7 separate regions of the Homo sapiens genome follow, and regions 1, 2, 4, 5, 6 and 7 are each linked to region 3. The links are contacts of gene promoters, found by promoter capture Hi-C in blood cells and fetal thymus (Javierre and others, 2016). All regions are on one chromosome and are shown on one strand. The core of a region is centred on a gene start or on the middle of the fragment in contact, and the rest is flanking DNA. Distances in the headings are between cores, read along the strand shown.

Evidence for each region. The method cuts DNA at HindIII sites, captures the fragments that hold promoters and counts their contacts. A CHiCAGO score of 5 or more calls a contact.
Region 1: a contact is called between a fragment that was not itself captured here and the fragment with the promoter of DMRT1 in region 3, in 4 of 17 cell types (M1 macrophages, monocytes, M0 macrophages and 1 more). The highest score is 8.0, in M1 macrophages.
Region 2: a contact is called between a fragment that was not itself captured here and the fragment with the promoter of DMRT1 in region 3, in 1 of 17 cell types (M2 macrophages). The highest score is 6.0, in M2 macrophages.
Region 4: the fragment with the promoter of DOCK8-AS2 here is called in contact with the fragment with the promoter of DMRT1 in region 3 in 5 of 17 cell types (endothelial precursors, M1 macrophages, megakaryocytes and 2 more); the score reaches 10.2 in endothelial precursors.
Region 5: a fragment that was not itself captured here is called in contact with the fragment with the promoter of DMRT1 in region 3 in 2 of 17 cell types (M2 macrophages and M0 macrophages); the score reaches 5.5 in M2 macrophages.
Region 6: a fragment that was not itself captured here is called in contact with the fragment with the promoter of DMRT1 in region 3 in 5 of 17 cell types (M0 macrophages, M2 macrophages, megakaryocytes and 2 more); the score reaches 7.5 in M0 macrophages.
Region 7: a fragment that was not itself captured here is called in contact with the fragment with the promoter of DMRT1 in region 3 in 1 of 17 cell types (endothelial precursors); the score reaches 5.3 in endothelial precursors.

The regions. Positions count from the first base shown.
Region 1 is chr9:575,090-578,522 of GRCh38, reverse strand. The region is part of intron 1 of KANK1 (KN motif and ankyrin repeat domains 1); the gene reads right to left. Among named protein-coding and RNA genes, the nearest start is that of KANK1, 72 kb to the right of the region's middle. RefSeq lists an enhancer at 3,253-3,433. The HindIII fragment of the contact is 175 bases long and covers 1,669-1,843 here.
Region 2 is chr9:507,780-510,760 of GRCh38, reverse strand. All of the region lies in intron 1 of KANK1 (KN motif and ankyrin repeat domains 1), which reads right to left. Among named protein-coding and RNA genes, the nearest start is that of KANK1, 4.6 kb to the right of the region's middle. The HindIII fragment of the contact is 6,814 bases long and covers 1-2,981 here.
Region 3 is chr9:839,518-842,946 of GRCh38, reverse strand. It overlaps DMRT1 (doublesex and mab-3 related transcription factor 1), which reads right to left and starts at 1,250. Exons shown (of 5, transcript NM_021951.3): 1 at 755-1,250. The coding sequence starts at 1,108. The HindIII fragment of the contact is 3,804 bases long and covers 1-2,834 here.
Region 4 is chr9:468,623-471,835 of GRCh38, reverse strand. DOCK8-AS2 (DOCK8 antisense RNA 2) reads left to right here and starts at 1,707. Exons shown (of 2, transcript XR_002956871.2): 1 at 1,707-2,522. It also overlaps a transcript of KANK1 not described here. RefSeq lists a silencer at 1,620-1,669 and enhancers at 1,780-1,929, 1,432-1,957, 2,490-2,589, 2,830-2,879. The HindIII fragment of the contact is 2,947 bases long and covers 1,065-3,213 here.
Region 5 is chr9:490,888-494,205 of GRCh38, reverse strand. It overlaps a transcript of KANK1 not described here. Among named protein-coding and RNA genes, the nearest start is that of KANK1, 12 kb to the left of the region's middle. The HindIII fragment of the contact is 5,391 bases long and covers 1-3,318 here.
Region 6 is chr9:556,201-559,474 of GRCh38, reverse strand. All of the region lies in intron 1 of KANK1 (KN motif and ankyrin repeat domains 1), which reads right to left. It also overlaps the pseudogene RNU6-1327P. Among named protein-coding and RNA genes, the nearest start is that of KANK1, 53 kb to the right of the region's middle. RefSeq lists an enhancer at 1,121-1,672. The HindIII fragment of the contact is 1,205 bases long and covers 917-2,121 here.
Region 7 is chr9:398,099-401,325 of GRCh38, reverse strand. It overlaps DOCK8 (dedicator of cytokinesis 8), which reads right to left. Exons shown (of 48, transcript NM_203447.4): 26 at 2,067-2,180. Among named protein-coding and RNA genes, the nearest start is that of DOCK8-AS2, 70 kb to the left of the region's middle. The HindIII fragment of the contact is 3,410 bases long and covers 54-3,227 here.

The sequences.
Region 1 (3,433 bases), core at 507-3,006, 260 kb after region 3:
TTTTAAGATTTTTGTATAGAGGACTGCACCCCCTCCCTGCCGCCCAACAAAAAAAAAAGGCTTTTTCTTTCAGGATTAATAAGAAATGAAACATTTAATTGTCTGTGGTCCATGTCAACAATGTTGCTAATATATTTCATTTTTTACCCTCCATGGCTTAGCAAAGGCAAACACACACACACACACACACACAGTTGAAAAATAAAATAAAGAGACTCAAGAATCCAAATCATACTTCCTTACTTGGTATCTAGATATATAAAGCAAGAAGAATGTTTCCTACTTTGTTTGAAGCAAATAAAACAAAAGGTGAATGCTTTTACTGATTTATTTCTGGGGTGATCCAACGAGAAAGCAATTTTCTGAGGAGTCCTCATTTGGCTCAGTTCTGCCCTTTAAACCATAAGCCCCAGTATGGCCAGTTCAGTATCCTCTGGTGTTCTTCTCTTCTCTCTCAGTTCTTGTGGAGGAAGTGATCACATCTAGGGGTGACCTGGTTACAAGGTGAAAGGAGGCCTCCTAGCTGGGCTCTGAGTGAGGGAATGATGTGTGCACAGGTAATGATCAACAACTAGCACTCTTTGGGGCTTTGCAGGATGCCATTGTGAGCTTCAGGGTGCTCCTATTCCCAAAGTTTACAGGTGAAACAGCTTTACTTTCCCAGAAAATTATAATAAAAAGTACAATTTTAAAATCCTACTTCTCATGCGTAAAGCCAGTGGTTCTCAAATGCTAGCATAAATCAAAATCACCTGCAAGACTTGTTGAAACATAAATTCCTGGGCCCTACCCTCAGAATTTCTGATTCAAGAGGTTTGGGGTGGAACTTGAGAATGTGTACTTCTACCAAGTTTCCAAGTGATGCTGTTTCTGGTCAAGGGACATTTTGAGAATAACTGCCTTAAACAAAGAAGTCTGAAGGGTGGGCACAAGCTATCTGGGAGATGATACTGAGAGGTGAAGCCGGCTGAGCTTCTGGGTCGGGTGCGGACTTGGAGAACTTTTCTGTCTAGTTAAAGGATTGTAAACACACCAATTAGCACTCTGTGTCTAGCTAAAGGTTTGTAAGCGCGCCAATCAGCACTCTGTAAAAACGCACCAATCAGCGCTCTGTGTCTAAAGGTTTGTAAACACACCAGTCAGCACTCTGTGTCTAGCTAAAGGTTTGTAAATGCACCAATCAGCACTCTGTAATAACACACCAATCAGCACTCTGTAAAATGGATCAATCAGCTCTCTGTAAAATGGGCCAATCAGCACTCTGTAAAATGGACCAATCAGCAGGACGTGGGCGGGGCCAAATAAGGGAATAAAATCTGGCCACCAGAGCCAGCAGAGGCAACCCGCTTGGGTTCCCTTCCATGCTGTGGAAGCTTTGTTCTTTCGCTCTTCACAATAAATCTTGCTGCTGCTCAGTCTTTGGGTCTGCACTACCTTCATGACCTGTAACACTGCAAAGGTCTGCAGATTCACTCCTCAAGTCAGCGAGGCCATGAACCCACTGGAAGGAAGAAACTAAGGACTCATCTGAACATCTGAAGGAACAAACTCCGGACACACCATCTTTAAGAACTGTAACACTCACCGTGAGGGTCTATGGCTTCATTCTTGAAGTCAGTGAGACCAAGAAACCACCTGAAGGAACCAATTCCGGACACAATACAAGCTTTCTGTTAATAGTATAGAAATCTATTTAACAGTTATTTATCATGCACCAGGTACATGGTACGTACAGGGAATGTCATGGTTTGCAAAAAAAAAACAAGGTCCCTCCTCTTCCTCTCCCACAAACCTGAAATAAAATTACTGTTCCAGGAAGAAGCACCAAGTTCAAGATGAAGCTTTCTGTATCTCCAACACAAACTGCATGCCCCATGAGGAAATGTACAGTCCCCTAAATGAAACAATGTCAAGTCTCCGTGATTGCCAGTGAAAGAATCGAAGCAAACGTCTGAGCCTGCTCTCAAGACTGAGATTACAACTAGAAAATGATGAAGTACCCAAAACATATAAGGAGCACACTATGACAAGCATATGATTGGCATGAGGGCTAAATGCAAGGGAACTGTGGGAAAGATAGGCACAGTGCCTAGCAGAGCAAATATTGGTTCCTCTTCTGCTTTCTTACCTATCTGTATATTAAAAGGGAGGCCAGTAAGGTTGTCTATGCTGGGCCTTCAAGGAGGCTGCCAGCTGCTTCTTACCTTGTATACACTCAGGACCCAAGGGTATGTTATCTCAGCAGCCCTGAGCATTTAAACTCATAAAATTATAAAAGGATGGTATGAAGCTAGTGGTACTGAAACTTTATCATGAATCAGAAGTATGTGGAGGGCTTTGTAAAAACACAGATTCCTAGACTCCCACCTTCAGAGTAAGCAGTAGGTCTGATAGGGCCTAAAAATTTAAAATTTCTAATAAGTTCCCAGATGATGTGAATGATGCTGGTCCATAGACCATACTTTGGGAATCATTCATTAAACTTATTGTTTTTTGTTTTGAGATGCAGTTGCACTCTGTTGCCTACGCTGGAGTCCAGTGGCACAATCTCAGCTCACTGTAACCTCCACATACTGGGTTCAAGCGATCTTCCTGCCTCAGCCTCTCAAGTGGCTGGGATTATAGGCATACACCACTACATCTGACTAATTTTTGTATTTTTAATAGAGACAGGATTTCACCATGTTGACCAGGCTGGTCTTGAACTCCTGACCTCAAGTGATCGGGCCCGCCTTGGCCTCCCAAAGTGCTGGGATTACAGGCATGAGCCACTGTGCCCGGCCAAGCTTATTGCTTAAGCCATTCTTTCCTTGCTATTAACTAGAACACTATCTCTGTAATTAATTTTTTTTGAGACAGGGTCTTGCTCTGTTGCCCAGGCTGGAGTGCAGTGACATGATCATGGCTAACTGCAGCCTCAACCTCCCAGGCTCAAGCAATCCTCCCACCTCAGTCTCCTGAGCAGCTGGAACACAGGTGTGCATCACCATTCCTGGCTTTTTTTTTTTTTTTTTCCCTGTAGAGACAGGGTCTTGCTATGTTGCCCAAGCTGGTCTCAAACTCCTGGGCTCAAATGATCCTCCCAGCTCAGTCTCCCAAAGTGCTGGAATTACAGGCAAGAGCCACTGTGCCTGGCCTCTGTAATCTATTATATAAAACAGAAGTCTCATGAAGTACTAAGAATAGTGGCTTTTGTCACCAACTGCGTGACTGACCTCAGGCAAATACTGTACTAACTTTCTCTGTGCTTTAACTTTACAGATATAAGTGGAGCTTATCTCCAAATTATACAAATCTCACTGAAGGTTATTACTATGCAGTTTTAAGGACATTACCAAGTATCAGCTGCTGCCTTGTCTTTGAGAATATTGTTCACTGCTTTAATTGAAATATGTCAGAACATTTAAGACAAGTACCCTAGACTCCTCATTTG
Region 2 (2,981 bases), core at 317-2,816, 330 kb after region 3:
TACCAAACAGCTTTCTCCCAAAATCCTCCAAGTACTTTTTTCGGCCTATATATTAGTTCATTTATTTTCGGTATCTTCCAGAAAAAGAATAGTAAGGAAGCCAGCATCACCAACCCCACTGTCCAGTGGTCAACCGGGGCTCTCCCTATGCACCGCTGATCTCTCTCCTTGAGAAGGCTCAGTGTCTCTTTAGTGATGTCTGCTCCCTAGCCAATTTCTAGAGACTCCTTAAAGCTGAGCTCAAGTCTTACTTTTGGGGGAAGCAGCTCCTAATCATCTAGACAAGAAAGACTTCTCCCTCAGAACTTAAACAAGCACTGCATTTGTAGAATGAACACTCCTTGGTCATGTGTAAGAATTTTGCCTAACTGGTATTTTTAATTATTAGATATAATTTCTGGACAATCAACTACTTAATGGTATGATCCTTCTTATATCCTTTCAAGCTCTTGGCTCAATACCTTTGTAAACAGGACCATATAAAGAAAATTAATCAGTGATACCTAAATGAAATTGCCACAAAGGTTCAATTTATGCTATTTTTAAAGAAGTTATCATGGTCAACCTCACCATTATTTTCAGAATTGCAATTTAACCCAATGAGACACCCTTTTGCAGGTAACATATTAGCAATTTAAAGATTTCTTAGACTGGGTGCAGTGGCTCACACCTGTAATCCCAGCACTTTTAGGAGGGCAAGGAGGGAGGATTGTTTGAGGCCAGGAGTTTGAGACCCGCCTGGACAACCTAGCAAGACCCCATCTCTACAACTAAAAAAAAAAAAAAGGAAAAATTAGCTGAGTGCAGTGGCACATGCCTGTAGTCCCAGCTACTCGGGAGGCAGGCTGAGGCGGGAGGATTGCTTGGGCCCAGCAGTTCACGGTTACAGCGAGCTCTGATCCTGTCACTGCACTCCAGCCTGGGTGACACAATGATATCCTGTCTCAAAAAAATAAAAAAGATTTCTTTAATCAATTCCATATTAGGTTCAAGGATAACTCTGCAGGCAGCAGTTTAACAAAGATCCCAAGCCACATAAACAAAAATCTCAAATTTATGAAATACCCAAGAGGGAGGTAAAAACTATATGCACAAAGATGATTTCCACAACGGTATGTACTAGTAAAACACCAGAAATTAACACACATTTCTAATAAGAGGATTATTAAATGAAAGCATATCCTTAGGCATATGCAGGGATTAAAAAGTCAGAGACTGAAGCAATATTAAGATACTGTGTTAAGAAACAAAATACAAAATTGAATATTAGAATTGTGACTTCATAAAAACATGAACAGACATGGAAAAGCACTGGAAGTGAAGACAACAAATAATTAGTCTGCTAGGATGGGGTAAATATAGGTCATATTGGGCCAGTGGCTCACGCCTGTAATCACAGCACTTTGGGAGGCCGAGGTGGGTGGATCACGAGGTCAGGAGATGGAGACCATCCCGGCCAACATGGTGAAACCCCGTGTCTACTAAAAGTACAAAAATTAGCTGGGCGTGGTGGCGTGTGCCTGTAGTTCCAGCTAATCGGGAGGCTGAGGCAGGAGAATTGCTTGAACTCAGGAGGCAGAGGTTCCAGTGAGTCAAGATCGCGCCACTGCACTCATCCTGGTGACAGAGCAAGACTCCGCCTCCAAAAAAAAAATAATAAATAGGTCATATTTTGTCCATTTGCCAAACTCTGCAGATCTACTGCTCTTCCAATTTAAAAAGGACACAACAGAACTCTCTCACACTACGGGTAGAAGTATAAACTCTACAACCACTTCAGAAATCCGCATGACTGTACCTCTAAACTGAATCCTAGTTTGGAACTGGGAAATTCTACTTCTGAATAGAATTTGTACAAATGTACACATTTGTATTGGATATTGTGTATCAAGACGTGTACTAGAATTAGAATGTTCATAGTCACACTACTTACCATGTAAGAAACTGGAAACTATGTAAATGCCCCTCAAACCTAAAAATTGATAAATTGTAGTCATACAATTGAATATTACACAGCAGTGAAAATAACTGAACTACAGCCACAAGCAACAACACAGCTGAATCTCACAAATATAATGTTGAGAAAGAAACCAGGATACTAAAAGCTATATACCGTGTGAGTCTGTGTAGAGCATGAAAACAGATAAAACTAATCCACAGTTGGCACAACGGTTACTCTTCGGGAGGGGCAGTGATTGGACAAGAGTATAGGGGCACTTCTGCAATGCTGGCAATATTTTGGTTCTTTCCGTGAGTACTTGTTATATGTTTATGTTCACTTTGTGACAATTTGTGAAGATGTACTCTTAAGATGTATAGCTACAGGCTGGGCACAGTGGCTCACGCCTGTAATGCCAGCACTTTGGGAGGCCAAGGCAGGCGGATCACCTGAGGTCGGGAGTTCGAGACCAGCCTGACCAACATGGAGAAACCCCGTTTCTACTAAACATACAAAATTAGCCGGGCATGGTGGCAGATGCCTGCAATCCCAGCTACTCAGGAGGCTGAGGCAGAGAATCGCTTGAACCCGGGAGGCAGAGGTTGCAGTGAGCTGAGATCACCCCAATGCACTCCAGCCTGGGCAACAAGAAAGAAACTCCATCTCAAAAAAAAAAAAAAAAAAAAAAAAAAAAAAAAAAGGCTGAGCAGGGTGTCTCACACCTGTAATCCCAACACTTTGGGAGGCAGAGGCGGATGGATAACCTGACGTCACGAGTTCAAGACCAGCCTGGCCAACATGGTAAAACCCCCGTCTCTAACAAAAATACAAAAATTAGCCAAGTGTGGGGGCGCATGCCTGTAATCCCTCAGCACTTTGGGAGGCTGAGGTGGGCGGATCACAAGGTCAGGAGTTGGAGACCAGCCTGACCAACACGGTGAAACCCCGTCTCTACTAAAAATACAAAAACTGGCATGGTGGCTCACACCTGTAATCCTGACACTTTGAGAGGCCGAGGTGGGCACATCACGATGTCAAGAGA
Region 3 (3,429 bases), core at 1-2,500:
GCGGGAGCGAAGATCCTGAAGACTCCTCTAGCGCAATAAACCCTCCCAATTCTGTTGGAACGCGGGCTCTGGGATCGCGGGGAAGCCCAGAGGGGCGAACCCCGGAATTCCCTGCCCTGAGAGCGGGATCAGGGATCTCAGGGACCCGGGAGCAGAGGGAACCCCCGCAACTCCGCCGAAACACAGGGTGAGAGATCGTGGGGAACCCCGAGCCGAGCGAAGCCCGCAACTCTGCCCGGCGGGCGGGATCAGACGCGTCTCCGGCGCTCCCAGACCGGCGATGTAGCGTGGCCGGGAGCCCAGGACCCCAAGCGCCGCCGCTGTCGGCAAGTACCGCCGCATCTCTCCACAACCCAGGACCCGCATGGCAACGGCCATGCTGGGGGGACTTCATTCAAGAAACTCGGGCCCCGCCGGGAGCGGTGGCCCACGCCTGTAATCCCAGCACTTTGGGAGGCCGAGGCGGGTGGATCACCTGAGGTCAGGAGCTCGAGACCGGCCTGACCAATATGGTGAAACCCCCGTCTCTACTAAAAATACAAAAATTAGCCGGGCATGGTGGTGTGCGCCTGTAGTCCCAGCTACTTGGGAGGCTGAGGCAGGAGAATTGCTTGAACCCGGGAAGCGGAGGTTGCAGTGAGCCAAGATCGCGCCACTACACTGCAGCCTGGGCAACCGAGCGAGACTCCATCTAAAAAAAAAAAAAAAAAAAAAAACTAAGGCTGAACCCGGGCTCCCGCACGCCCGCACCCACCTGCGCGGCCATCACGCGCTGCCTCTCGGCGATCAGGTTGCACTTCTTGCACTGGCAGTCGCGCCACATGCAGAAGCGCTTGTGGCCCTTGAGCGGCGAGGCGTAGCCGTGGTTCCTGCAGCGTGCGCACTTGGGCAGCCGCGGGGACTTCTTGCTCCCGGCACCCAGGTCCGACGCCCCGGAGCCGGAGCCGCCTCCTCTGCTGCTGCCCCCGGCGCTCGAGCCGCTGGCCGCCCCCACTAGCGCCCCAGACGCTTTGCCAAAGCCCCCGGCTCTGCCCTGCGGCGGTACCCCGGGGGCGTGAGGGGCTTCCGACGGTGTAGAGGGCTTGCTGAATGCCTCGTCGTTGGGCATGGTGCCCCTAGGAGAAGTGCGAGCACTCTGGCCCCCTCTCTCGCCTGGAGACTGCTGCGAGGGATGAACCCGACGGACAGCGACGCTCCGGAGGAGGAGGCGCAGGAGACGTGTGCGCTGCAGCCGGAGGCGCAGCTGGAGTGGCGAGGTCTGGGCACGCCACGCCCGGAGTGGTGGGGGGTTGTGCCTTTTCTTTTGGCGCGCGCGCGACTCAGAACTTTCGGATACTTTTCAGAACATTCCCGGGACTGCCTGGGAGGGAGCGTGGCCACGCCCACCGCCCCCCGACTCCAGCCACCGCTCTCCAGCTGCTTGCAAACTTGCACCGGCTGCAAGCATCCAGGGCTTTGCTGCAGGGTCCCTGCAAGCGCACCGAGAGATACAGAGCGGCCTGGGAATCGCGTGGCACCCCTCGCCCCGCTCTCGGAGGCGCCAAGACCCGGTTGCCAAAGCACGGTGCACCGAGGAAGCTGGGCTCCCCAGGTCAAGACCAGAGCCGTGCTTGCATGCTTAGAGGAGGTGCAAACCACCCTATGGGGTCTTCTAGCTCCCTTTCCCCCAGAGAGACGCACCAGATTTGATAGAGCCGACCTTGGCAGCAGCCAAGTCAGAAAAAAATTTTTTTTCTCGCTTAAGAGAATTAAATATGAGGTGGAAGGCCTGAGAAATTTATAGGGTAAATCAGAGTTGCCCTATATACGGCAAAGAAGATCCTCAGTGTTGGGGCACAAGCACTTCAAAAATCTCAAAGGTTGGAACTTTCTGTTCTCCGTTTATCCCTTCCTGCACCTGTCTTCATTTGCTCACAACACTTCTACCTCCTTCGCTCCAAATAACTTTACGATCTACTGTTGCAGCCCGTGTTCCCGTTCACTTCAGGTGCATATAGCTTCTTGTCTGTGAGGCTGTTTAAACTTAGACTCTGCAGGCACGGGAAACTCAAACTTAAAAAGAAACATATGTATTAAAAAAAACTGAGGTTGTGGGGGGTGGTTACACAGATGTAGAAATGTATCAAAACTCATTCTACACTTCATATCTTGCATTTTACAGTATGTCATTATACCTCTACACACACACACACACACACACACACACACACACACACACACACCCCTGGCTCGATCATCTTACAGCCTGTCCCAGGGTTCTCATCCTGAACTCCCGCCCCAGCCATGCCTGTGTCCTCTCTGCACCTGCACAACAAATGTATCCCTAAGGCCTGCTGAGCAGTTCTTCCTACACACCCACGTGCCCCCCTAAGGCCAGCCCTTCACCTCAAGTCTGAATCTCTGCGGTAGCTCCCAGCTGCTATCTCCATGTCTTAGTCTTCCGGTATATTCTATACACACAGCAGGGGGCCCCAGCAGTACTTTGCTATTGTTTTCCATGTTAACAAGTTAAAGACCCCGGAGTGGCTCTTAATGCACTTTGAATGCTCCTTATTTTCCACCAGCACTGGTACTCACCTTCAGGATCCTGGGCCGCCTCCAGACCTAGGGGATTATTTCTCCAAAGAGGCATGGTCACCCTGTTCAACTTCTCATCAAAATGGTTGTACTGTGGCCACCTCTTTCAGCAGTTTGGTGTTTTCAGCACTGAGTTCTGAAATCCTCGAATCTGCCTTTGGAGCTCTAATTCTGAGGCCTCTCTCACAGGCCCTTTCCCTCAGTCTGAAATTTCTCCATTAGTATTCTCTGTCTGAAAATTACTTCCAAAAGAAGCTTCTAGCTTTACACAGCACCTCATACCCTACCTGTGAAACCAGTGAAGCTCTACTCCTGACAGGAGCTAGGATGCAACAATCTATTCCATCCTGGAAACTTATAAATGATAACCACTTAAATCTTCCATTAAAACAATCTTCCATTAAAACACGCATGTCAATTGCTGTTATCCAATATTTATGTTCTTTTTCCAGATTTATATTTTATTTATTTAATTTTTAGAGATAGAGTCTTGCTCTGTTGCCTGGGCTAGAGTGCAGTGGCACAGTCATAGCTCACTGTAGCCTCCAGTTTCTGGGCTAAAGGGATCCTCCTGCCTCAGCCTTCCAAGTAGCTGGGACTAGAAGCATGTGCTACCACGCCAAATTTTTTTTTTTTTTTGAAATGGAGTCTCGCACTGTCACCCAGGCTGGAGTGCAGTGGCGCGATCTCAGCTCACTGCAAGCTCCGCCTACCGGGTTCACGCCATTCTCCTGCCTCAGCCTCCCAAGTAGCTGAGACTACAGGCGCCTGCCACCATGCCCGGCTAATTGTTTGTACTTTTAGTAGAGACCGGGTTTCAACATGTTAGCCGGGATGGTCTCGATCTCCTGA
Region 4 (3,213 bases), core at 458-2,957, 370 kb after region 3:
TGTAATCTCCAATGCCTAAGTGCAAACGATTCTCTCGCCTCAGCCTCCGAAGTAGCTAGGACTACAAGTATGCACCACCATGCCTGGCTAATTTCTTTTACAGAGATGGAGGTCTTGCTATGTTGCCTAGGTTTCGAACCCCTGGCCTCAATCAAGCCTCCCACTTTGGCCTCCCAGAACCCTGGGATTGCAGGGGTGAGCCACCGCATCTGGCAGAGAATGCATTCTTTTACAAAAATGCCAACTCACCTCAAAGAAAAGTTGAGTGAAGAAGGATGAGAAATTGTGACTTTATCTTATTTACTTTGGTCCTGCTCCAAGGAAGATGACAGACTGAGGCCCGCATAAGGAGGGAGTCCCACATGGACTTGGGAGTGTCATCACCATCTCCTTGGGGCATGCAGAGAGCGGTCACCATCTCTTGACCTCTCTCCTCAGCATGCTCCCCACTTCCCTACTCTACTTCCTTGTGGTTTCCTTCCTTTGTGCCCTCAGTCTAGTGTCCTTACCCCTGTCCTGGAGACCCCATCTCTTTTCTCCAGTACATAGTGCCCCTCCTCGGTCCCTTCCTGCACATTCCACTCAGCTGGCACTATCGCTTTCCTTGGCCCAGCTTCGCCAGCTCTGAAAAAGCAAGGGGTGAGGTGCAGTCCATCAGATGGAAGAGATGATATAATTGATGATCAGATCCAGGGCAGGTGCCCAGCAGTAACAACTGTGGCAAATTTCTACATAAGCTAGCTGAGAAACAAGCTAATAGAATGAGCTTATTTCCCAGTGACAATGCAATCTAGTGTTCTATGACCGGCTCCTTGCAAAACAATAACCCTGGCATTATGACAAGATTCACATTAACTGTGCAGGGCCCTGTCTTGACTACCCAGGTGGCTAGCACCTACTTGGATAAGAATGTCCTGAGCTTCAAATCTCTTCCCTGATAAAAAGAGGGCTGCTGCTCTCAAGGAACTTCAGTCAAGGGGAGTGGGGGAAGACAGTCCCACACACAGACAAAAAACTAGGGGGTGAAAGGCCAATGAGTGGTGGGAAGGAAAGGGAAAGAAGCTTCCAGAAGTAAGTGCTGAATGGGAGATTAAACTTGGCTGGGGGCCACGGTGGAGCACAGGTGTAATGGAGGGTGGGGCCTCTTTCAAACCTCACTCGTGGCTGTGTGCACGCGTGTCCGTTCCCACTGGAGTGGCGGTGCTTTCTTGTGGCAGGGGATGGGTTGCTTCCCTCCGAAGTCTTCGCTAGAACTCCCTCCTCCTCCTGCTTCCTTTCACCTGTTCGTTCCAAACATACATTGAGCTGCACGTTCTGGGTTCCCTCACGAAGGAGATTTCAGGTCTATGCCCACTTGCCACGATTTTACTTTACTTGGTTCCCAGTTCTACTCCTTTCCCTGAGCTTCACAGTGTTGAGAAAAAAAGCCCTCAGCCTCCCCGAGTCCCTCAGGCCACGCACCCTCTCACTTTGCTAATTTCCAACCACTCGCTGCTGAGCAGGCTGGAGCACGCCCGCTTCGGACGCCCCGAAACACCCTCGGGCGCATGCTCAGTAACTCCCCCACGCCCCTACCCGGGCGCATGCTCAGTAACTCCCCCACGCCCCTACCTGGGCGCATGCTCAGTAACTCCCCCACGCCCCTACCCGGGCGCATGCTCAGTAACTCCCCCTACCCCGCCCGTCCCACCACTGCTGCCCTTCGCCGCCGCCCCCGGCAGTGCTCGCTCTCTCTAGGCCCCATGTAAATCGCTGTGTTTGCTGGGGAGCCCTTAGTTCAATTCTCAGGGGATTAGGGCCATTGAGATTCTTAATCAATTGCTGGGTTCCACGCGATCCTCTTTAGAAACTTTTTGCTTAATATGCATCTAGAGACATGCACGGCCCGCCTGCAGCGCTGGAGCCGATGGAGTGGAGCCTGGGAGGCTGCAGGCGACCCCCAGGCTTCTAAACAGCAACGTCAGTTTAATTATTGCAGATCCGTCACAGCTGCCAAGTCCTCTCTGTCTTCGTTGTTGTTAACGGGGAAACTTGCCGCCCGGTGGCTTTGCTTCAGGCGGAAGTCCGCGTGCTTTGATACCCTCAGGGGGCACTTACAGGCTAGGTGGACACAGGTGGGCTGCGGGACTCCGCGAATTTACCTTCCAGGGGAATGCACTGCACACATGCTGCACACAGGAGACAGGGAAGCCTGGCGAGGTTGGGTTTTCAGGCGCCACTGTATACACTCTCAGTTCCACTGATACCCTTTCTTTCTTCTACCCGCTTTCAGGCGCCACTGTATACACTCTCAGTTCCACTGATACCCTTTCTTTCTTCTACCCGCTTTCAGGCGCCACTGTATACACTCTCAGTTCCACTGATACCCTTTCTTTCTTCTACCCGCTTTCAGGCGCCACTGTATACACTCTCAGTTCCACTGATACCCTTTCTTTCTTCTACCCGGAGGCCCTGGTAGTTGGCTCTCGCCAGACAATGTAAACTGGCACTACAAGTGGAATAGACCAGACGTTTATTTTCTGGTAAGTCAGGCCTCTGTCCTGCCTGCACCTTTGGCCTGATTTTGATTAACGTTGTCAGAAGCGGATGCCATGTGTGGGGGTGCTGGCTAAACTTTCTGGAAGTGTCAATTGTAAACAGTGTTACCTTACATTTTGGGCAGCACTTTTGAGTTTCCAAAACATGTTCCCATGCATTATCTCATTGGGTTTCCTCAGTAGATTGGAAGAATGTGGAGGAACTTGCACCCTCTTTCACAGTGAAAAAAACCCTGAAGCTCAGAGCAGTATAGTATCTTCGCCAGAATTGCAGGACTAGAAAGTGAAAGAACAAGAAACCAGGTCTTCTGGTCCTTAGTCTGGAGACTTTTGGCAGTCACATATACTTTTTTATTATCTCACTAATAACTCTTGATAATCTTGTTGGATAACAGAACAGTTTGTTCATCCGTGTCGTGTTCTCTCATTGCATTAAGGAAGTGATGAGGGAGCTGATTTCTCAATTGTTTTTTAGAGCTATAATGCCTTGAAAATCATTCCCTTATCCTGGCTATCAGTAATTTGCCATCTCCTAATATGTAGTAAAAATAGTAAACGTAAAAACTAGCTGCCAAGCTAATGCCACAAACATCAAGTAGGAACTGGGTTGGATTCAGTAACATCGGTCCAGAGAGAGCACTGCTCCTCAAGATGGGTGCAACATCAAGGACTTAGG
Region 5 (3,318 bases), core at 540-3,039, 350 kb after region 3:
AAGTTTATGAAAACTTAAAATGTATTGCTGGGTGCGGTGGCTCATGCCTGTAATCCCAGCACTTTGGGAGGTCAAGGCAGGCGGATCACGAGGTCAGGAGTTCCAGACCAGCCTGGCTAACATAGTGAAACCCCATCTCTACTAAAAATACAAAAATTAGTGGGGCATGGCGGTGTGCACCTGTAATCCCAGCTACTCAGGAGGCTGAGGCAGGAGAATCGCTTGAACCCGGGAGGTGTAAGTTGTGGTGAGCCGAGATCGCACCATTGCACTCCAGCCTGGGCAACAAAGCAAGACTCCATCTCAAAAGAAAAAAAAATGTATGTAAACTATTAGTATTTATTGCTACATAAATTGCCGGCCAGGCGCGGTGGCTCATGCCTGTAATCCCAGCATTTTGGGAGGCTGAGGTGGGCAGATCACCTGAGGTCAGGAGTTCAAGACCAGCCTGGCCGACATGGTGAAACCCTGTCTCTACTAAAATACAAAAATTAGCCAGGCGTGGTGGTGTGTAGCTGTAATCCCAGCTACATGGGAGGCTGAGGCAGGAGAATTGCTTGAGCCTGGGAGGTAGAGGTTGCAGTGAGCCGAGATCACCCCACTGCACTCCAGACAGAGCTAGACTCCATCTCCAAAAAAAAAAAAAAAAAAGCAAATTACCCCAAAACTAGCAGCATGAGACTATAAATGTTTATCATTTCACATAGTTCCTGAGAACCATCCAGTGAGCTGCTTCACTGGATGGTTCTGGCTCACAGTCTCTGATAAGGTTGCAATCAGAATGTCACTGGGGGCTTCTGTCATTTGAAACCTTGACCAGGGCTGGTGGATCCACTTCTGAGAAGGCTTCTTCACTCTTCTAAGGAGGCTCAGCAACTCACATGGTTGCTGGCAAAAGGTTTGTCACGTGAACTGTCCCATGACATGGCAGCTGGTTTTCTCCAGACCAAGTGGGGATGGAGAGAAAGACAAAAAGAATGACCAAGATGGTGGCTGCAATGTCTTTTATAACCGAATCTCAGAAGTGACATACCATCACTTCTGCCATATTCTATGGTCGCACAAACCAACCCTGGTACAATATGGGAAGGGACTGTACAAGGATGTGAATATTCAGAGACAGGGAGGCCGGCTACCAGGCCACAGCTGGTTTTCTTTTCTTTTTTTTTTTTTTTTTGAGACGGAGTTTTGTTCTTGTTGACCGCCCAGGCTGGAGTGCAATGGCACGATCTCAGCTCACCGCAACCTCTGCCTCCTGAGTTCAAGTGATTCTCCTGCCTCAGCCTCCCGAGTAGCTGGGATTACAGGTAAGGGTCACCACGCCCGGCTAATTTTGTATTTTTAGTAGAGACAGGATTTCTCCATGTTGGTCAGGCTGGTCTCGAATTCCCGACCTCAGGTGATCCACCCGCCTCGGCCTCCCAAAGTGCTGGGATTATAGGCATATGACACCGCACCTGGCCACAACTATTAATAACAATAAGATATTTTTTCTCAAAAGCATGTTTTGGTTATTAAATATATATTTCAAATATACATTTAAATGCATATTTCAATATATTTAATCTTAAACTTTTCAAATAATAATAAATAATGATATTTACTTAGTACTTTCTATATGCCAATCACTATGTTAAGCATGTGATGTGAGACTGTCTCTCACAGACAGCCTCACAGTTGTCCAGGCAACCCTTAACAGCTCTAAAGGATGCATTTATTAGTTGCCTCATTTTACAGAAAGGAAACCTGAAGCACAGAGAGGTTTAAGTAACCTGCCCAAGGACACACATCTAGTAAGTAAATCAGCATATAAACCCAGAGCTATCCACGTAAGTACCGACAGCATGGCTAAGCTATACTGATTCTCTCTAGTCAGTTTTGTGAAATAAATCTCTAACTATCGATGCTTTGCAAGTTAAGTACTATCATTCTATTTAAGCAGTTAAGGATTTCCCTACAGTCACAGAGTAAATAAACTAAGACTCAAAACTGGAAGTTAGGTTTGTGGAGTTCTGTCACAATTATGATGACAATAATGACTCTGTCTTTTCTCCTACTACTCTCCTCTTCCCTGTCTCCTGTCCAGCCACGTTGCCTCCTGGCTGTTCCTGGAACACTCCAGGTATGTTCCTTGCATTAGTCTGTTTTCACACTGTTGATAAAGACATACCCAAGATTGGGTAATTTACAAAAGAAAGAAGTTCAATAGACTTACAGTTCCATGTAGCTGTGGAGGCCTCAAAATCATGGCGGAAGGCAAGGAGAAGTAACTCACGTCTTACTTGGATGGCACCAGGCAAAGAGAGGGCTTGTGTAGGGAAACTCCCATTTTGAAAACCATCAGATCTTGTGAGACTTAATCACTATCACAAGAACAGCATGGGAAAGACCCACTCCCGTGATTTGATTACCTCCCACCGGGTTCCTTCCACGAAATGTGGGAATTGTAGGAGTTATAATTCAAGATGAGATTTGGGTGGGGACACAGCCAAACCATATCACTCCTGCTTTAGGTGATTTGTGTTTGACGTTTCCCTTTTCTCGCCCCAAATCAGCATGCTCCTTCTTTCTCTCCTGTCCACAAATGTCACCTCCCCAGAGAGGCCCACTATCACCATGCTATTTAAAATTGCACTCCAGGCCGGGCACAGTGGCTCACACCTGTAATCCCAGCACTTTGGGGGGCCGAGGAGGGTGGATCACGAGGTCAAGACATTGAGAGCATCCTGGGCAACATGGTGAAATCCCATCTCTACTAAAAAATACAAAAATTAGCTGGGCGTGGTGATGCACACCTGTAGTCCCAGCTACTCAGGAGGCTGAGGCAGGAGAATTGCTTGAACCCGGGAGGCGGAGGTTGCAGTGAGCTGAGATCATGCCACTGCACACCAGCCTGGTGACAGAGCAAGACTCTGTCTAAAAAAAAAAAAGAAAATGCACTCCAGGAGTGGGCACGGTGGTTTACATGTGTAATTCCAGCACTTTGGGAGGCCGAGGTAGGAGGATTACTTGAGCCCAAGAGCTCAAGACCAGCCTGGAAAACATGGCAAGAGCACATCTCTACAAAATGTTTAAAAATTAGATGGGGCATGGTAACACATGCCTGTGGTCCTAGGTGCTTGGGAGACTGAGGCAGGAGGATCCCTTGAACCCAAGAGTTTGAGGCTGCAGTGAGCCATGGTTGTACCACTGCACGCCAGCCTAGGCAACAGAATGAGACCCTGTCTCAAAAAAAAAAAAAAAAAAAGCCACTTTAGCCCTTCACATAGTCTCATCTTTGTTCTCCTCATCTTTTTTCGTAGCACTTATTGCCATCTA
Region 6 (3,274 bases), core at 270-2,769, 280 kb after region 3:
AATTTCAAGTACCACATATTCAGTCACCACCCTCAGCCTAAGCATCCATCACTTTTACCTACTTTTTTTTTTTAACCTCTCCAATAAAAAAGTCATCATCCTTCAAGTTTTCTAAGCTTGGAAAAAATGAAAATCACAAGTGAATGACAGTGTTGACTGTACAATTAAAACCTTCAATGCACAAAAATATTAAATGGATGATCTCTGCAAAAACCTCTGCAAGAAATTATAAATGGCAACTACCATTAACTTTTAGTTTAGAATAAATCTATAAAACCAAAAGAACAGACTAGACAACTCACAAGAAGGTGACAAATCTTTGGGAAAAACACTCAATGCCTATCAAGCTCCCCCAAAAAGGCTCATTTAAAATACAGATCACAGTTGTTAATTAAGAAATAAAGATGAAAAAATACAGTACATCCTTATTATTCACGGATTCCACATTTGCAAATTCATCTACTAAAACTTATTTATAACCCCAAGACTAATGCTCATGGTCATTTGCGCACAGGTGGAGAGAACCAAAATTTTTTTTTCTTTTTTTATTAAGGAACGCTTCACGAATTTGTGTCATCCTTGCACAGGGGCCATACTAATCTTCTCCGTATCATTCCAATTTTAGTATATGTGCCACTGAAGCAAGTACACACCAAAATATTTGAGTCACTCCACATACATGTACCCAGCTGAAGCCAAAAAACCAGCCTACACTCTTTGTTCTAGCCCTTATACTATTAACAAATGTCCCTTTTGTGGCTAGTTTTTAGGGCTTTTTTTTTTCATTTTTGTGGGTTTCTTGGTGATTTTGCTGTTTAAAATGAGCCCCAAACATCATGCCTTAGTGTCGTCTAATGTTCTTAATCACAACAAGGCCATGATGTGCCTTAGGAAGAAGAGACGCATTGGCTAAGCTTCATTTAGGCATGAGATACAGTGCTCTTCGCCATGAGGTCAATGTTAATGAATCAACAATGTATATTAAACAAGGTATCTTTAAACAGAAACACATGCAAAACAAGGCTATGTATTGATCGGTTGACAGCTGACAAAATCGTTATAACCAGAGGCTCACAGGAATCTAACTCTGTATTGTTCCCCTAGGAGCAATGGCTCAGTATTCACTAATTATGTCCACAGCGACTTTATAGAACATAACTGCCACAAATAATAACAGTGGGGTGTTCTTCCAAATTATCCTCTATTTCCCCTATTTCCTGCAGTGAGCAGTTTGCTATCTCTGGATATCCTATTTATATAACAGAACAGCTCCAAGTCATAGGTCTAGACTTCTTTGCTATGCTCCTCCTTAATGCCCTTCCAAAATTTTCCTCTAGCCTTTTCAAAGGTGCCTGCCCATTCTACACTGGTTTTTTCCACCTCCTCTCACAGCATCTGACTAATCCGATCTTCACTCCTGGGTTCCTTGACATTCCTACCATTGTTCGTATAGGTTTGTTTGTTTGTTTTTTGAGAGAGTCTTGCTCTGTCACCCAGGATGGAATGCAGTGGCGCGATCATAGCTCACTGTAGCCTCAACCACCCAGGCTCAAACAATCCTTCTACCTCAGCCGCCCAAGTCGCTGAGACCACAGGCGTGTGCCACCATGCCCAGCTAATTTAATTAAACCAGCCCAGGCTGGCCTCAAACTTCTGGGCTCACACAGTCCTCCCACCTCAGCCTCCCAAAGTGCTGGGATTACAGGTGTCAGCCACCACACCTGGCCGTACAGGTCCTTTTACAAAACAGATTTCCTTAGTTCTTGGGGCCTCAGTTAAGTTCTTGGGCTGCCTTCTCCTGTTCTTCCTCACCCAAGGATTAGTACTTTCGTGATCTGTCTTCTACATTACTATCTGTGGCCATGAGATCATATGTACATTTTTGACTAACAGTTTGGCTATTTTTCAATAGCCCCCTACCAAGAATTCCCTGCCTTAAACTCCAGGATGATATGGACATTTTTCCCCATTGTCACTTAAAGTTCATTTAGAAACATCTGGTAGGATCCTGAACCTCCACATTCATTTTTGTTCTAAATTTTTAAACCTTCTATCATGAAAAACTTCAAATATACACAAAAGAGAATACTATATTGAATACAATGCACCCATCACTAAGCTTCAACAATGATACATATTTTGCCAGCCTTTTTAATATATTCCCTCTTTTTCTGTTTTATATTTGCTGGAATCTTAAAGCAAAACCAAAACAATATATCTTTTCACTTATAAGAACATCAGTGTGCATTTATAACTAATGAATAAATTTTTTTTTTTTTTTTTTTTCCTTTTGAGACATGGTCTTGCTCTGTCACACAGGCTGAAGTGCACTGGCGCAATTTCATCTCACTGCAGGCTCAACCTCTCAGGCTCATGTGATCCTCCTGCCTTGGCCTCTCAAAGTACTAGGATTGCAGGCATGAGCCACTACACTCGCCCAGAAATTTGTTTTTAGAGTAACTACCATGCCATTAACAAACCTAACAAAATTAACAATTTCTTATCTTCAAGAACTCAATTCATATTCAAATTTTTATCATCTCAAAGCTGGTTTGTTCAAACAGGAGTCCAAAGTCCCCATACTGCATGTCATTACTGAGACCATACTGGGACTAAGGCAGGGAGGAATGAGCCCTAAGTGAGTCTGTAACAAGCGAGAAAGCAGCTCATTCAACTAAAAGAATTAAATTGGAGGTCTGGCCCAAGAAAGTGGAAAAATAAACAAAGAAAACTAAAACTATTCAGGAACATCATGAAGCAGGGCAAGAGCTAGAGAGAAAAGTACCAAAGGGGCTAGCAATTTGAGTAAGGAGAGTAACTGGACAAATGACAGAATTATCTTAATGGAACAAGGACTTTAGCTTTAAAAATCTCACTTTGGATCAATGAAGTAATGAGAAACAGTTACTAAAAAGCAAAACCGCATAGTCATTGTATCTAATTCCTCAAATTTTAGTTTCATAAGCACCTTTGTACATCATAGCACTTTAATAATTATAAGTTTAAAATGATCATGGCTAACTCCATGAGACTAAGATCTGGATCTGGCTGACTCCAGAGACTAAGACTCACCACGTAGTCAGAGGAGAGCACAACTCAGAAACCAAGGTTCCCTAAGTCTTCCCTGGGAATCACTAAACTCACATTGAACTTCTAACTGCATCAGATACAGACACATACAGAGAAAAGTTTTATATAAGCAATGCATGCTCGTTAATTAAAAAAAGAAAATTAACCAAGATAAATTCTAATACTTCTCACTTTTTGAGGTTTA
Region 7 (3,227 bases), core at 509-3,008, 440 kb after region 3:
GGGAGGGGCTTCCGCTCTTATGTAACCCTGTCCAAGTGCTGCTCAATGAAGCTTGTATGTCACTGCTTTTTATGGTCCTATCCTTTTCGTTGATCAGCCCTCAAATCTCTCAACCCCCCCTTCTTATTTTAAAACTGAGGAAATTAAGACCCATAAAATTGGAAAAACTTATCTAAAGTCACTAAGTGACTAACCACAGAGAACGTGGTGGTGATGGGAGAGGTGGTGATGGTGGTGGAGGTGGTGGTGGTGATGATGGTGACAATGATGATGGTGGAAGAAGTGATGGTGGAGGTGAAGGAGGTGGTCATGGTGGAGCTAATGGTGGTGGTGGTGGAGGAGGTGGTGATGGTGGAGGAGGTGGTGGTGGTGGTGGTGATGGTGGTGGTGGATGTTGTGGTGATGGTGAAGGAGCTGTTGGTAGTGGGGGAGGTGGTGGTGGTGGAGGTGGTGGTGATGGTGGAGGAGGTGGTGATGGTGGAGGTGGTGGTGATGGTGATGGTGGAGGTGGTGGTGATGGTGGAGGTGGTGGTGATGGTGGAGGTGGTGGTGGTGGTGGAGGTGGTGGTGATGGTGAAGATGCTGGTGGTGGTGGAGGTGGTGGTGGTGATGGTGGAGGTGGTGGTGGTGGTGGAGGTGGTGGTGATGGTGAAGATGCTGGTGGTGGTGGAGGTGGTGGTGATGGTGGAGGTGGTGGTGATGGTGGTGGAGGTGGTGGTGGTGATGGTGGAGGTGGTGGTGATGGTGGAGGTGGTGGTGGTGATGGTGAAGATGCTGGTGGTGGTGGAGGTGGTGGTGATGGTGGAGGTGGTGGTGGTGATGGTGGAGGTGGTGGTGATGGTGAAGGAGGTGGGTGGTGGTGATGGTGAAGATGCTGGTGGTGGTGGAGGTGGTGGTGATGGTGGAGGTGGTGGTGGTGATGGTGGAGGTGGTGGTGATGGTGATGGTGAAGGAGGTGGTGATGGTGGAGGAGGTGGTGGTGGTGGAGGAGGTGGTGGTGGTGGAGGTGGTGGTGACGGTGAAGATGGTGGTGGTGGTGAAGGAAGTGGTGGTGATGGTGGAGGTGGTGGTGATGGTGGAGGTGGTGGTGATGGTGGAGGTGGTGGTGATAGTGGAGGTGGTGGTGATGGTGATGGTGAAGGAGGTGGTGATGGTGGAGGTGGTGGTGGTGGTGATGGTGGAGGTGGTGGTGATGGTGAAGATGCTGGTGGTGGTGGAGGTGGTGGTGGTGATGGTGGAGGTGGTGGTGATGGTGATGGTGAAGGAGGTGGTGATGGTGGAGGTGGTGGTGGTGATGGTGGAGGTGGTGGTGATGGTGGAGGTGGTGGAGGTGGTGGGAGGTGGTGATGGTGGAGAAGGTGGTGATAGTGGGCATGGGACTAATGAGAATGGTGGTGGCTGGTGGTAGTAGTAGCAGTAATGATGGTACTAGTGGCTAGATTAGGGATATGGAAGGAGAGGAGCAGCAACAATAACTGCTATTTATATTACTATTGTTAAGGTAGTTTGAGGGAGACAGCACATGAATAATTCCATTTAAAAATCTGGGGGGATGGCACTGATAGATGCACTTGGTTTATGAAATATTTGCTATGTGCTCAGTGAAATTAAATCTCTTTGAATGATTTTATTTAAGAACACTTTAAAAAGGTTCTTTCAAGTCGGAGCATCACAACAGCAATTTAATTAATTACCCTAATATGTGAAAAGAGACCTCAGACTGGGAGCGCAAGGACTTGTCAAAGACTGAAAGCACTGTATAGCCATGTTAATTTTCTGTTGAATGTCAAATTGAAGATTCAGATCATATCACAAATTTTAATTCCCACAGATGAATCTGTTGACCCTTCTACACTGTCGGTAAATGCTCCAGGAATCAAGGTAAACCAGCATGTCTGAGGAATGTCCATGGCACAGACATGAGGGACGTGCTGCAAAACACAGGATGTGTAGGATTCATGCCAACTCAGTAATGAAGAAGACAGCGTGCCATGGCAACGAACATCACATTATATGAGAAGGAACCAAGTGGCTCGCTCGGGGGTGGGGGTGGGGGGGACACTCACCTGGCTGCAATAATGTCTGATGAGGTTAAACACAAAGCCCCGATCCATGAGGGAGAGAAGGTCATACAAGAAGAAAGCCAGGCTGATGTTCATCTTTTCCGCCTGTTCATTTTCCTTAAAAACAAACAAACACCCAAATCATTTTGTGGGACACTCTGGATTTGAACTTCCAGGTCACTGGTGGGAACATTGGGAGAGACAGGTCCTATTATTTCAGCCACTGTCCTTCTGGGTGGCACTGGGCGAAGTAGTTGAGTCTCCTTTAACTAAAGCCATGACTGTGAGGTTGAATCAAGTAATTATTCGTGCACTGTTAATATTTAGGTGCATTTCCTTCCAGTCACTTTTTTTTCTACATGCATATTTATATGTGTATAATTAACCTCATTCTCTATATACTATGTTGGATCCTACTTTTTTTTATATCCTGGTAACTTTTTTTTTTGTAACTATTTTCTTTTTTTTTGGCAAACTGACTTGAAAAATACTTACTGTTTTCAATGAGACAGTTTCTTAATTTTTAAGGATTATTACAGAAAATCCAATCAGGATAAAAGAATTAGTTTTTACCTAAGAAATTTATTCCTCAATTAGGCAGCATTTCCAGCCTAAGAGAGGTCAGAGTCATACTCCGCAGGGTGTATTCACTCCGTAGGGTAAATTCCTCCATGAATCCCAATTAATAAGCTACGCCTATTTTTAAAATTTTTAATTTGTATTATTTCTCAGTGCTCCTGTTTATGAGGGATTTTACAGTGCTTCAGAGCAATCTGGGATTCAGTTTTTCATGTTTATGTCCTTTATTCTCAGAATGACAAATCAATTTCCTTTGACACTATTAAAAATATGGTTTGAAACTATTTTGCTTTTGTTAACATGCAATTTGCAAATTCAGGCCATGCTGACCAGTCAAGTCACTGGGATGGATGGGGACCTGATAAAGAGGTTGCTACCGTGCCGCTGAGAGGTCCTCGAACTCTCTCCGCATTCTCCACATGGCCACTCCTCCTGGGTGCCTTACGTGACTCAGTATCTGGGTCTAAAATCTCCAGTCTTGGCTTTACTGCTGGCTGTGTGTGACTTTTGGAAAATTTATCAACCTCACTGTGCCTTATTCTCACACCTGCCAATGTGGAGATACCATGCTGTTCCAACAAAGTT